Regions from separate parts of the Homo sapiens genome. Here all the other regions are linked to region 1. The links are contacts of gene promoters, found by promoter capture Hi-C in blood cells and fetal thymus (Javierre and others, 2016). All regions are on one chromosome and are shown on one strand. Each heading gives the region's core, a stretch centred on a gene start or on the middle of the fragment in contact. The rest is flanking DNA. Distances are from core to core; before and after follow the strand shown. Region 1 holds the start of GP9 (glycoprotein IX platelet). Region 2 overlaps COPG1 (coat protein complex I subunit gamma 1). Region 3 overlaps HMCES (5-hydroxymethylcytosine binding, ES cell specific). Region 4 has its middle 15 kb from the start of CNBP.

What was found. The method cuts DNA at HindIII sites, captures the fragments that hold promoters and counts their contacts. A CHiCAGO score of 5 or more calls a contact.
Region 2: a contact is called between a fragment that was not itself captured here and the fragment with the promoter of GP9 in region 1, in 1 of 17 cell types (naive CD8 T cells). The highest score is 6.1, in naive CD8 T cells.
Region 3: a contact is called between a fragment that was not itself captured here and the fragment with the promoter of GP9 in region 1, in 1 of 17 cell types (neutrophils). The highest score is 5.8, in neutrophils.
Region 4: a fragment that was not itself captured here is called in contact with the fragment with the promoter of GP9 in region 1 in 4 of 17 cell types (naive CD8 T cells, total CD4 T cells, non-activated CD4 T cells and 1 more); the score reaches 6.6 in naive CD8 T cells.

The regions. Positions count from the first base shown.
Region 1 is chr3:129,059,329-129,062,028 of GRCh38, reverse strand. GP9 (glycoprotein IX platelet) reads right to left here and starts at 1,250. Exons shown (of 3, transcript NM_000174.5): 1 at 1,179-1,250; 2 at 410-535; 3 at 1-301. The coding sequence starts at 289. The HindIII fragment of the contact is 4,040 bases long and covers 1-1,935 here.
Region 2 is chr3:129,263,746-129,266,445 of GRCh38, reverse strand. It overlaps COPG1 (coat protein complex I subunit gamma 1), which reads right to left. Exons shown (of 24, transcript NM_016128.4): 13 at 2,447-2,542; 14 at 654-897. Among named protein-coding and RNA genes, the nearest start is that of MIR6826, 7.0 kb to the left of the region's middle. The HindIII fragment of the contact is 2,735 bases long and covers 1-2,700 here.
Region 3 is chr3:129,287,383-129,290,082 of GRCh38, reverse strand. It overlaps HMCES (5-hydroxymethylcytosine binding, ES cell specific), which reads right to left. Exons shown (of 7, transcript NM_020187.3): 3 at 1,086-1,229. Among named protein-coding and RNA genes, the nearest start is that of HMCES, 9.9 kb to the right of the region's middle. The HindIII fragment of the contact is 8,709 bases long and covers 1-2,700 here.
Region 4 is chr3:129,197,947-129,200,646 of GRCh38, reverse strand. No RefSeq gene overlaps it. Among named protein-coding and RNA genes, the nearest start is that of CNBP, 15 kb to the right of the region's middle. The HindIII fragment of the contact is 3,329 bases long and covers 1-2,700 here.

The DNA.
Region 1 (2,700 bases), core at 1-2,500:
GCAGATAGGTGAGGCTGCAGTCACAGTGCCAGGGGTTCTGCGTCACATCGAGGGTCTGCAGCTGGGGCAGGTGGTCAAAGGCTCCCGGGGGCACGGACTGAAGGCTGTTGTTGGCCAGCAGAAGGTGGCGGGTGCGGGCCGGCAGGGCAGGCAGGGCCGTGAGTCCGTGGCCCCTGCAGTCCACCCACAGCCCCATGGTTTCCAGGGCGCGGCAGGTACATGGGCTGGGGCAGTCCTTGGTGGCCTCTGCTGTGGCCCAGAGCAGGAACAGGGCTCCCCAGGCAGGCATGGGACAGGCTGGCTGCAGAGAGAGGGGCTGTGAGGGAGGGCCTGGCAGCCTGGACCGATCCTCAGGGACGGCAAGCACTGGGGATGTAGCGGAGCCTGACATGGGACGGGGTGCACTCACCTCCCTTCTCGGGTCTCAGCCTTCTCCTCTGGGAAACCAGCTGGTGACTAGGGAAGGTGGAGTGTGCCCAGCCCAGGCCTGGCTAACTGTCTCTGGACACCGTAGAAGGCCGGGCGGTGAGGGCGGCTGTGGATTGGGTAAGTTTGTTTTTGGGAAGGGGAAGGGACTTCCTGGCCCTTAGCAGAGACCCCATCCCCTGCTTGGGGATGAGAGGAGCAGATGGCTGCTAAATGAGTCCCAGCCCAGGACCACAGTCCCCAGAGACTAGGAAAGAGCCTTGGAGGGCCCTGCAGGCTGCGCCCAGCACCCCCCACCAGCTAAGTGAGCTGTTACCTGATTCCCAGATGCAGAAGACAGCAGGACAGGGACACTGGCTGGAGCAGGGAGGGGAACTCAGTGGGACCCCATCTGGAAAACCACTCATCTGGGCTAACACTGACTTGGGGAAACTGAGGCCCAGAGAGGGAAAGCAATGTGCCCAGGGCCACCGGTGTGGTGTCAGAGGCCAGACTCACACTCGGGTCTCGGCAACCGTGGCCCTCTGTTTGGTTCTTCCCCACAGGCGTTTCCCCTCCACCAGCAGAGCTCCCCCTACCCACAGCAGGTTTCCAGTGAATAAGTGTCAAATCAACTCACTCATCTTGACTCAGCCAAGGAGATGGTGTCTCAGAGGGAATGTCCCACCCAACCCTGTCTTGTTAAAGGGACAGGAACTGACCTCCTCTCTCCCTGTGGGAGGCCATGCTGGGTAATACGGAGGGCCACTTACCTGTGAAGCCTTTGGTCAGGTGCTCCTGTCTGGCCTGAAAGGTCCTGGCTGAGGCCTGGGTGGCAACTCTATGGGATACAGCTGAGGTGGCCGCTGCGGGAGCGGGCGGAAGGAAGTGATGAAAATAGCCTGGCTTATCCCCCCAGTGCAGCCTTGGGGCCTATTTCCAGAGGCAGGAGGCCCTCAGGGGCCCGCGCCTTGGGCACAGAACCACATCTCAACCCCGGTTTATAGAAGGGGGTCCCACTGTGCCGCCAGTGCCTTGATGGGCTTTGGAATCAGGTCTGTGGAGGACTGAGGGTGGCCCCTCACCTGCTCCCAGAAGGTGGGAACTAGGAGACCCCTGAGAAACGTGGCTCTGCTGGTTGTTCCTCCGAATCTCAGTTTTCCTCATCTGTAAAGTGGGAGCAGTGACCGGTCCTGCCTGCCTCACAGAGGTGTGGGCTGGGCAGCTCCCACTGGCTGAGAACACCATGGTGGGGAGAGTGACTTCATTTTTAACTCTCCTCCCTCCTCCTGTATACTCAAGGACGGAGTCTCTTCTTGGTGCCATGGTGTTTTTAGCTCCTGCCTAGTGCTTCTCCATGCCTCTTTCTAACAAACAGCTGTAGGCCTGGGAAGCAGAGCCTCTACCAAGTGTGAATCTCTAGCTAGAATTTTGGCCTATGGTTTTAACATTTGCAGTACATTTTCTTCTAGAGCACATTCTACTTAGGGGAGGGACACCATTTTCCATTTATGTTAGTGACATAAAGCTTCCTTTAAAAGATAAATATATTTTGGGATGGAGAATTGCTTGAACCCAGGAGGCAGAGGTGGCAGTGAGCCGAGACCGTGCCATTGCACTCCAGCCTGGGTGACAGAGCGAGACTCCGTCTTAAAAAATAAATAAAACAGGGTAAAAACACAGAAGTTACAGAAGCCTGGCAGGAAAAGCCAAAGACAGAAGGCTGACGGAGGCTTTAAACGCACTTCGTTGACATTCAGGACCCTCGGGAATATTCCTCGGCCCTACGGGGGTGGGGGTGTGCTTGTTCTTATTTTGGTCTCACATCCTTCTCAGGCCAGCCTTCCTCCTCCTGCATGGCCAAGCAGGGTGAGTCCTTCCTTGGGAGGCCGCCTGTTCTCTCCCCGCCTCCTGGTTCTGGATTTGGGTAGGGCAGGATTTGGGTGTTCACCCTCCTAGGAGGCCCTGAGAGGCTGCCAGGCCCCAGCTCTGCTTCCTCCACCCACTGATGCTGGGCTCAGAGAAGGGTGGGGAAGGTGCTGTTCCCCCACTGATGTCACACCTGCTCGGGGGCCTGGTTGCTGCTGGGGGTCCCCTGGTATGTGCTCAGTGGGGACTCTGACCGGAGCCTGGACCATGGAGAGGAGCCTCAGCCTGTCTGGCCCTTCCCTCCCTCCCCATGGAGCCTTGGCATGTTCCACCTCCTCTGCCCTGCACACATTCACCAGTGAGCCCCACGCAGGTGGGTAAGGGGTTCTGGAGTGAGTGGGGGTGCTGGAGCTGCCAGGCCAGGTG
Region 2 (2,700 bases), core at 84-2,583, 200 kb before region 1:
AGTTAAAAAAAAAATCACTTAAGGCAAGGCACAGTGGCTCTGTAATCCCAGCACTTTCAGAGACTGAGGCAGGAGGATAGCTTGAGCCCAGGAGTTCGTGACCAGCCTGGACAACATAGCAAGACCCCGTCTCAATTAAAAAAATACTTAAAAAATTATAGGGGTTAAGAACCATGGCCGAGCACGGTGGCTCACGCCTGTAATCCCAGCACTTTTGGGAGGCCGAGGCGGGCAGATGATGAGGTCAAGAGATCGAGACAATCCTGGCCTACATGGTGAAATCCCATCTCTACTAAAAATACAAAAATTAGCTGGGCATGATGGCACACACCTGTAGTCCCACCTACTCGGGAGGCTGAGGCAGGAGAATCGCTTGAACCCGGGAGGCGGAGGTTGCAGTGAGCTGAGATTGCGCCACTGCATTCCAGCCTGGTGACAGAGCGAGATTCCATCTCAAAAAAAAAAACAAAACAAAAAACAAAGAACTGTTCAACTAGATGACATGTAAGGTCCTGCCTACAATATTATGAAAAACAGCTTGTGCAGCAAGAACACTGAGTGCACAAATCCCCACTGGAGGCTCAGGTCCCTTTGCTGGGACATTTATTCAAGGGTAAGCTAAGTTTCCAAGTTCAGCCCTGGCTCAGACCTACCTGCCCGGACCTCCTCATGCTCCAAGACCACTCGGTTATAGATGAAGCGGATGTACTTTGAGGGATTGGTGGTCTTGGGCCCCTCCTGGCCCAGGAGATGTAGAATACGGGTGGCCAGCACTGTGAACTCGCAGTCCTCGATGAACTCGCACAGATGTGACAGCCCTGTCTCCTTGCTCTCTGAGTTCTCTTCAATGATGCTGATGATGCAGTCCACGATAGCGCGCTTATACTCAAAGCCACCCTGCAGAGAGAAGCTGAGCTAAGCAAGGAGCCTGCTCTCTCCAGAAAAGAGTTGAAGACCTGAGCTGGACCAAGGACAGTTGTCCAAACACAGAACTTGGAGACAGGGCACTTGGTTCTCTGGGCCTCTATCACTCTTTCCTGTCAAACAAAAGGCTGGTCAGGTGCAGTGGCTCACACCTATAATCCCAGCACTTTGAGAGGCTGAGGTGGGTGGACCACTTGAGCTCAGGAATTCGAAATCAGCCTGGGCATCATGGAGAGACCCCATCACTACAAAAAATAGAAAAATTAGTTGGGCATGGTGGTGCATGCCTATAATTCCAGCTGCTTGGGGGTCTGAGGTGAGACGATTGCTTGATCCCAGGAGGTTGAGGCTGCAGTGAGCCGTGATCACACCACCACACTCCAGCCTGGGTGACAGATGGAGGCCGGGCGCAGTGGCTCACGTCTGTAATCCCAGCACTTTGGGAGGCCAAGGTGGGTGGATCACCTGAGGTCAAGAGTTTGAGACCAGCCTGACCAACATGGTAAAACCCTGTCTCTACTAAATATAAAAAATTAGCCGGGCGTGGTGGGGGGCACCTGTAGTCCTAGGTACTCGGGAGGCTGAGGCAGGAGAATCACTTGAACCCAGGAGGTGGAGGTTGCAGTGAGCCAAGACCTCACCACTGCACTCCAGCCTGGGCAGCAGAACGAGACTCCTACTCAACAGAAAAAAAAAAAAACTGCTATCATGCATACAGTGTCTCCAAAGTGCTAGGCCTGGCCAGGCATGATGGCTCACACCTGTAATCCCAGAACTTGGGTGGCTAAGGTGGGAAGATCACTTATAGCCAGGAGTTTGAGACCAGCCTGGGCAACCCAGCAAGACCCCATCTCTACTTAAAAAAAACAAACACAATCACCAAAGTGCTGGGCCCATTAGCTGACAACTCACTAAACATTAGTGCCCTTCTACAACAACATTCTTGGGAAACGCAAAGACACTCAAGGCAATGGCTCCTCTACTGCCTAGTCCATGGGCCACTCTGGGGCTGGGTGAAAGGGGTACCATGTATCTGAGGAACAAATCTACTCCATGAACATCTGCTATTGCTCCTAAGAATTAACCCATTTTGTTGAGACGTCCAAGAAAGGTGGCATAAGTGAATCAGTAATTCACGTCGGGAACAGAAATAGAACCAATGTCGTATTATTAGCACCGGTTTCACAAGAAACCACTCCTAGAGCTCCTGGAATGGTCTAGAATATTTCTGCACTAGAGTCCACCAGAAAAGAACATGCATTTTCCCATCTTCTGCACAAGCATCACCTCAGGACATCCAGTTTTTAAAGTCAGGCTGGTGAGTCATAGTTATTACTGTAATTACTAGCAATTGGTACGTGTTTACATGTCCACAAGGAGTTTAAAGGGTTGCAGGCACCATGAAAACCAGTTGGTTAACAGGCTAACATAAGCACACGCACAAAGCTGAGCATGGAGCCAGTGGTCAGGTCACTCCCTGCACCAGGAGACCTGGCATCCCCCGAATGCCCCTGACTCTTACCTCTTCCCGCAGCATGGTGAACAGGAAGTTCATAAGGACGGCGTGTTTGCGAGGATATTTCTGACACAGGGCACTGATGGCCTGGACAACCACCACCTAAATGAAATAGACGTGCATGAGCAGCAGGCCCTGCCACCAAGATGGGGTGACTCAGTTCCCTGAGTGCCCACTGAGTCCTTCCTTAGGTAAGGCCAGGCCTTGGGCATGACACAAGGGCAAGGAGACCAGAGGAACTCAACTCCACGCTTGAAGCT
Region 3 (2,700 bases), core at 134-2,633, 230 kb before region 1:
CCCGAGTAGCTGGGACTACAGGCGTCCGCCACCACGCCCGGCTAATTTTTTGTATTTTTAGTAGAGACGGGGTTTCACCGTGTTAGCCAGGATGGTCTCGATCTCCTGACCTCGTGATCCGCCCATCTTGGCCTCCCAAAGTGCTGGGATTATAGGTGTGAGCCACCGTGCCCGGCCACTCTCTTTTCTTATGTATAAAGAAAGTCACAACTCACATAGATGTTGAAAAGATTAAATAATGTACATAAAAGCAATCACCTCTTTTCTAACAAATAGGTACTTGTCATAGCTAGTCTTCAAAGGTGCCTCCCCAATGAAGCATGCTTCCCAGTATTCACACCCTATGTAGACACCTCCCACACTGAATTTGGGCTGGCTCTGTGTAACCCATAGAATGCAACAGAAGTAGGCCGGGCGTGATAGCTCACACCTGTAATCCCAGTACTTTGGGAGGCCCAGACAGGTGGATCACTTGAGCCCAGGAGTTTGAGACCAGCCTGGGCAACATAGCCAGACCTTGTCTCTATTTAAAAAAAAAAATTAAACAATAACAATAAAAGAATACAGCATAAGTAATGCTGTATGACTGCCAAGATTAAGTGATGCTGTAAGACAAAGGCTTATATCTTCTGTCCTGCTCTGTTGGATCATGAGCTCTGGGGTAAATGAGTCACCGTAACAGAAGCCTGGCTACCCTGACACCCTCGAGCTAGGCATATGGAAAGCCTTCTAGTTGTTCTAGTCATCCCAGCTGAAGGGTCAGATGTGGGTGAAGAAGTCATCTTGGACATCCAGCCTCAGCTGCCATCTAACTGCAACATGAGAACTTCCAAGTGAAAACTGCCCAGATGAGCCCAGTCAACCCAGAGAATATGAGAGATAATGTTTATCATTTTGTTTCACACTACTAAGTCTGGTGTGGTTTGTTATGTAGTAACAAAATAGCATTCCACATTAACAACTGGGAACATTCTTTTTTGTGTTATTTATTTATTTTTGGTTGTCCTCTGTAGGCTAGGATGGAAACACCCTTTGGAACCTTATTTCTGAGGTATACGGGGCACTAATAGCTACCAGCCACCTACCTTAAATGACCGTTTCTCCATTACGGTATCACTACGACAGTTGGTAGTATTGAACTGCAGCTTGGAAGGATCACTTTCTTTGAACCAAGAAGGGACCAAGCCCCAGCGCATGGGAGCAATGATACGCTCAGATGAGTCTGCATCCTGCCACGGAGAGAAGATCTAGTGAGGAGATCATAATGAAATTCTAACCTAATTTAACATATGTATTTATTACATTATTTAGGAGTATTGAAATATAAAGAATTCAAGATTATTTTTAAACAGGGAATCTACTTGAAAACAATTTTTTTATTTTTTTTGAGATAAGGTCTGGCTCTGTCATCCAGGCTGGAGTGCAGTGGCGCTATTTTGGCTCAATGCCACCTCTACCTCCTGGCTCAAGCCATCCTCCCACCTCAGCCTCCCAAGTAGCTGGGACTATAGACACACGCCCCCCCATACCCAGCTAATTTTTGTATTGTTTATAGAGATGGGGTTTCGCTATGTTGCCCAGGCTGGTCTTGAACTCCTGGGCTCAAGTGATTTGCCCACCTTAGCCTCCCAAAGTGTTGGGATTGTGGGTGTGAGCCACCACAACCAGCCAAAAACAATTTAATGACTTATCATGATGTAGGTAACTTGAGTTCTTTAGCAATCATATTTACTAGAATGTAAGACATTCTGCTTGAATAAGGTAGAGGGATGCAAAGAGGTTTAGTTTCTTTAAACTTTTTTGTTTTTTAGAGACAGTTTCGCTCTGTTGCCCAGGCTGGAGTGCAGTGGCACAATCATAGCTCACTGCAACGTTGAATTCCTGGGCTCAGGTGATCCTCCTGCTTCAGCCTCCCAAGTAGCTGGGACTACAGGTGCACACCATCATGTCCAGCTAATTTTGTAGAGATGAGGTTTTACTATGTTCCTCAGGCAGGTCTCGAATTTTTTTATTTTTATTTTTTTTTGAGACGGAGTCTCGCTCTGTTGCCCAAGCTGGAGTGCAGTGGCACGATCTTGGCTCATTGCAACCTCTGCCTCCTGGGTTTAAGCGATTCTCCTACCTCAGCCTCCCGAGTAGCCGGGACTACAGGCTTCCACCACCACGCCAGCTAATTTTTGTATTTTTACTAAAGACGGGGTTTCACCATTCTGGCCAGGCTGGTGTTGAACTCCTGACCTTGTGATCCACCCGCCTCAGCCTCCCAAAGTGCTGTGATTACAGGCATGAGCCCCTGTGCCTGGCCTGGTCTCGAACTCTTAGGCTCAAGTGATTTTCCTGCCTCGGTCTCTCAAAGCACTGGAGGATGCTATTTTTAGGAAAACCTATATACAAGGTTGGCCCTCAACAACTCAGAACTAGATTTTGAGAGTATTCCCACTTTTCCCCAACTCATAAGGGTGGTTTATTCCGCCTAGTCTGTGTAAACAATAAAGTTTATGCCAACACCTGTTTTCCTTCTGGGAGTCTGAAATTTTGGTACCTGCTAGGTATCTGGTAGAGTGCCTACATGATCAGCCTCCAATAAAAACCTCGGACCCTGAGTCTCTAATGGGTTTCTCTGGGCATAAACGTTGTACATACTAACCTGGGCAACATGGCAAACTCCAGTTTCTACCAAAAAAAAAAAAAATTATTCTG
Region 4 (2,700 bases), core at 183-2,682, 140 kb before region 1:
CATCTTAGATGGGAGTTGAAGCGAAGATTCTGGAGAGCAAGGAGGGACACCGCAAAGGACAGATCCTTCAGAATCACCAGCAAGTGGCCGGGCACGGTGGCTCATGCCTGTAATCCCAGCACTTTGGGAGGCCGAGGCGGGCGGATCACTTGAGGTCAGGAGTTCGAGACCAGCCTGGCCAACATGGTGAAACCCTGCCTCTACTAAAAGTACAAAAATTAGCCAGGCGTGGTGGCTCATGCCTGTAGTCCCAGCTACTCGGGAGGCTGAGGCAGGAGAATGGCGTGAACCCAGGAGGCGGAGCTTGCAGTGAGCCGAGATCACACCAGTGCACTTCAGCCTGGGCGACAATGCGAGACTCCATCTCAAAAAAAAAAAAAAAAAAGAAACACCAGCAAGTACAGATGAGGAGGTGAAAGCAGGCACGGGGTGGCAGGTCTTGCATTCTCTGGCCTTTCTATCTCCTTTTCTGGGTCGCCAATGTTTAGCCTGGCTTCTTGTCTTGTTGCTTCACCATCAAGAATCTCAACGTAGTTGACTTTGGAGGTCATGGACCCTTGTACTTGAAACTCTTTTCTACTCTATCTCTTTTCTCTTTCCCAGCAGAAGGCTAATGGAAACCAGAAATTAAAAGTAGCTCTACTCTTCCTATTTATTCTGGCAAAACTCTTGGACTGAGTAGTATGGGTAATTGAGATACGAAGTTTTGAGATATTTTGCCAAAGTGATTAGCTGACCAAAAATGTTGAGAACCATTGCTTTGTCACATAGGATGAACATGACTGGAATCATTATTATTTATAAGGTCCTGTGGGTTGTTTTCTGATATAATAATAACAACAAAACATTTGAGTAGCACATTACAGTGTAAAAAGTACTTCTTATATATACTTGATTCCAAAGTCACAGACCTCTTGTGGGTAAGTGATAACTTCCTCATTGTATGGCAGTTCCACTTAGAAACTATTCATATTGACATCGATTCCGGAGATTCCAGATTCCATTTGCTGTATCATTGCAAAGGCCAGCATAAAATACAAGCCAACTGCTGTTATCAGCAAATCAAGGTTGGAAGGTACTTAAAAAACAGGAAAAGCGTGTGGAAAATGCCTTGTCTTAGCGACTCTCAAATGCAATGTAATAAATGCTGGCTCTGAGGACAACGTACAAATCAGGCAATCTCAGGTGTGATGCCAAGAGGGAAAATGAGGTATTCATTCAATAATAGTTCATTGGCTGGGCGCGGTGGCTCACGTCTGTAATCCCAGCACTTTGGGAGGCCAAGGTGGGCGGATCACGAGGTCAGGAGATCGAAACAATCCTGGCTAACACGGTGAAATGCCGTCTCCACTGAAAAAAAAAATTAGCCAGGCGTGGTGGCGGGTGCCTGTAGTCCCAGCTACTCGGGAGGCTGAGGCAGGAGAATGGCATGAACCCGGGAGGCGGAGCTTTTAGTGAGCCGAGATTGCACTACTGTGCTCCAGCCTGGGCAACAGAGCGAGACTCCATCTAAAAAAAAAAAAAAATAGTTCATTGAAGGCCCATGTGCCAAGTACGCTATTAGATACCAGGACCTTGTCTACTCTGAGCCTGTAGAGTCTGCTCTTAATTTATTTTATTTTAGGGACAGTCTTGCTCTGTCACCCAGGCTAGAGTACTCTAGGTATGTGCCACCACACTCGGCTAATTTTTATTTTTTAATTTTTTTGTAGAGACAGGGGTCTCACTTTGTTGCCCAGTCTAGTCTCAAAACTCCTGGCCTCAAGTGATCTTACCTCAGCCTCCCAAAGTGCTGGGATTACAGGCGTGAGCCACTGCACCCAGCCTGCAATTTAGAAACATATAATGAAATGATGAGATTTGTTTTCATGAAATGATGAGATTTGTTTTCAAGACCTTCTATAATTTTAGTTGGCAGAGTTAGCTTTTTTTCCTCTCTACTGTGAATCCTAAGATATAATTTCACCTTTTATGCCCCTGTGTAACAACCCAGTGTATTCTCCTTCACATAGAAATAGATTGCTTGGCACAGGGGCTCACTCCTGTAATCCCAGCACTTTGGGAGGCCGAGGCGGGCGGATCACTTGAGGTCAGGAGTTCGAGACCAGCCTGGCCAACATGGTGAAACCCTGCCTCTACTAAAAGTACAAAAATTAGCCAGGCATGGTGGCGGGCACCTGTAGTCCCAGCTACTCAGGAGGCTGAGGCAGGAGAATCACTTGAACCTGGGAGGCAGAGGTTGCAGTGAGCTGTGATCACGCCACTGCATTCCAGCCTGGGAGACAGAGCGAAACTCTGTCTCAAAACAACAACAACAACAAAATTAGCTGGGCATGGTTGTGGGTGCCTGTAATTCCAGCTACTTGGGAGGCTGAGGCAGGAGAATTACTTAAACCCAGGAGGTAGAGGTTGCAGTGAGTCAAGATCGTGCCACTGCACCACTCCAGCCTGGGTGATAAAGTGAGACCCTTCTCAAAAAGAAAAAAGAAAAAAAGAAATATATCAAAGTAGGTATTAGGAGAAAGTGAGTAAGGGTCTATAGGTCTGATGTGAGGAAACTCAAGGAGACTGCTCCTTGGCTTCTCTAGAAAATCTACCACAAGAGATTTAATGTGGCCTTCAAGAAAGACCCTTGGAAGAAACCCTGGAAATGCTAAGACCTTGGCCAATGTCCCCTAACTTCTCAATGGGAAGTTATTT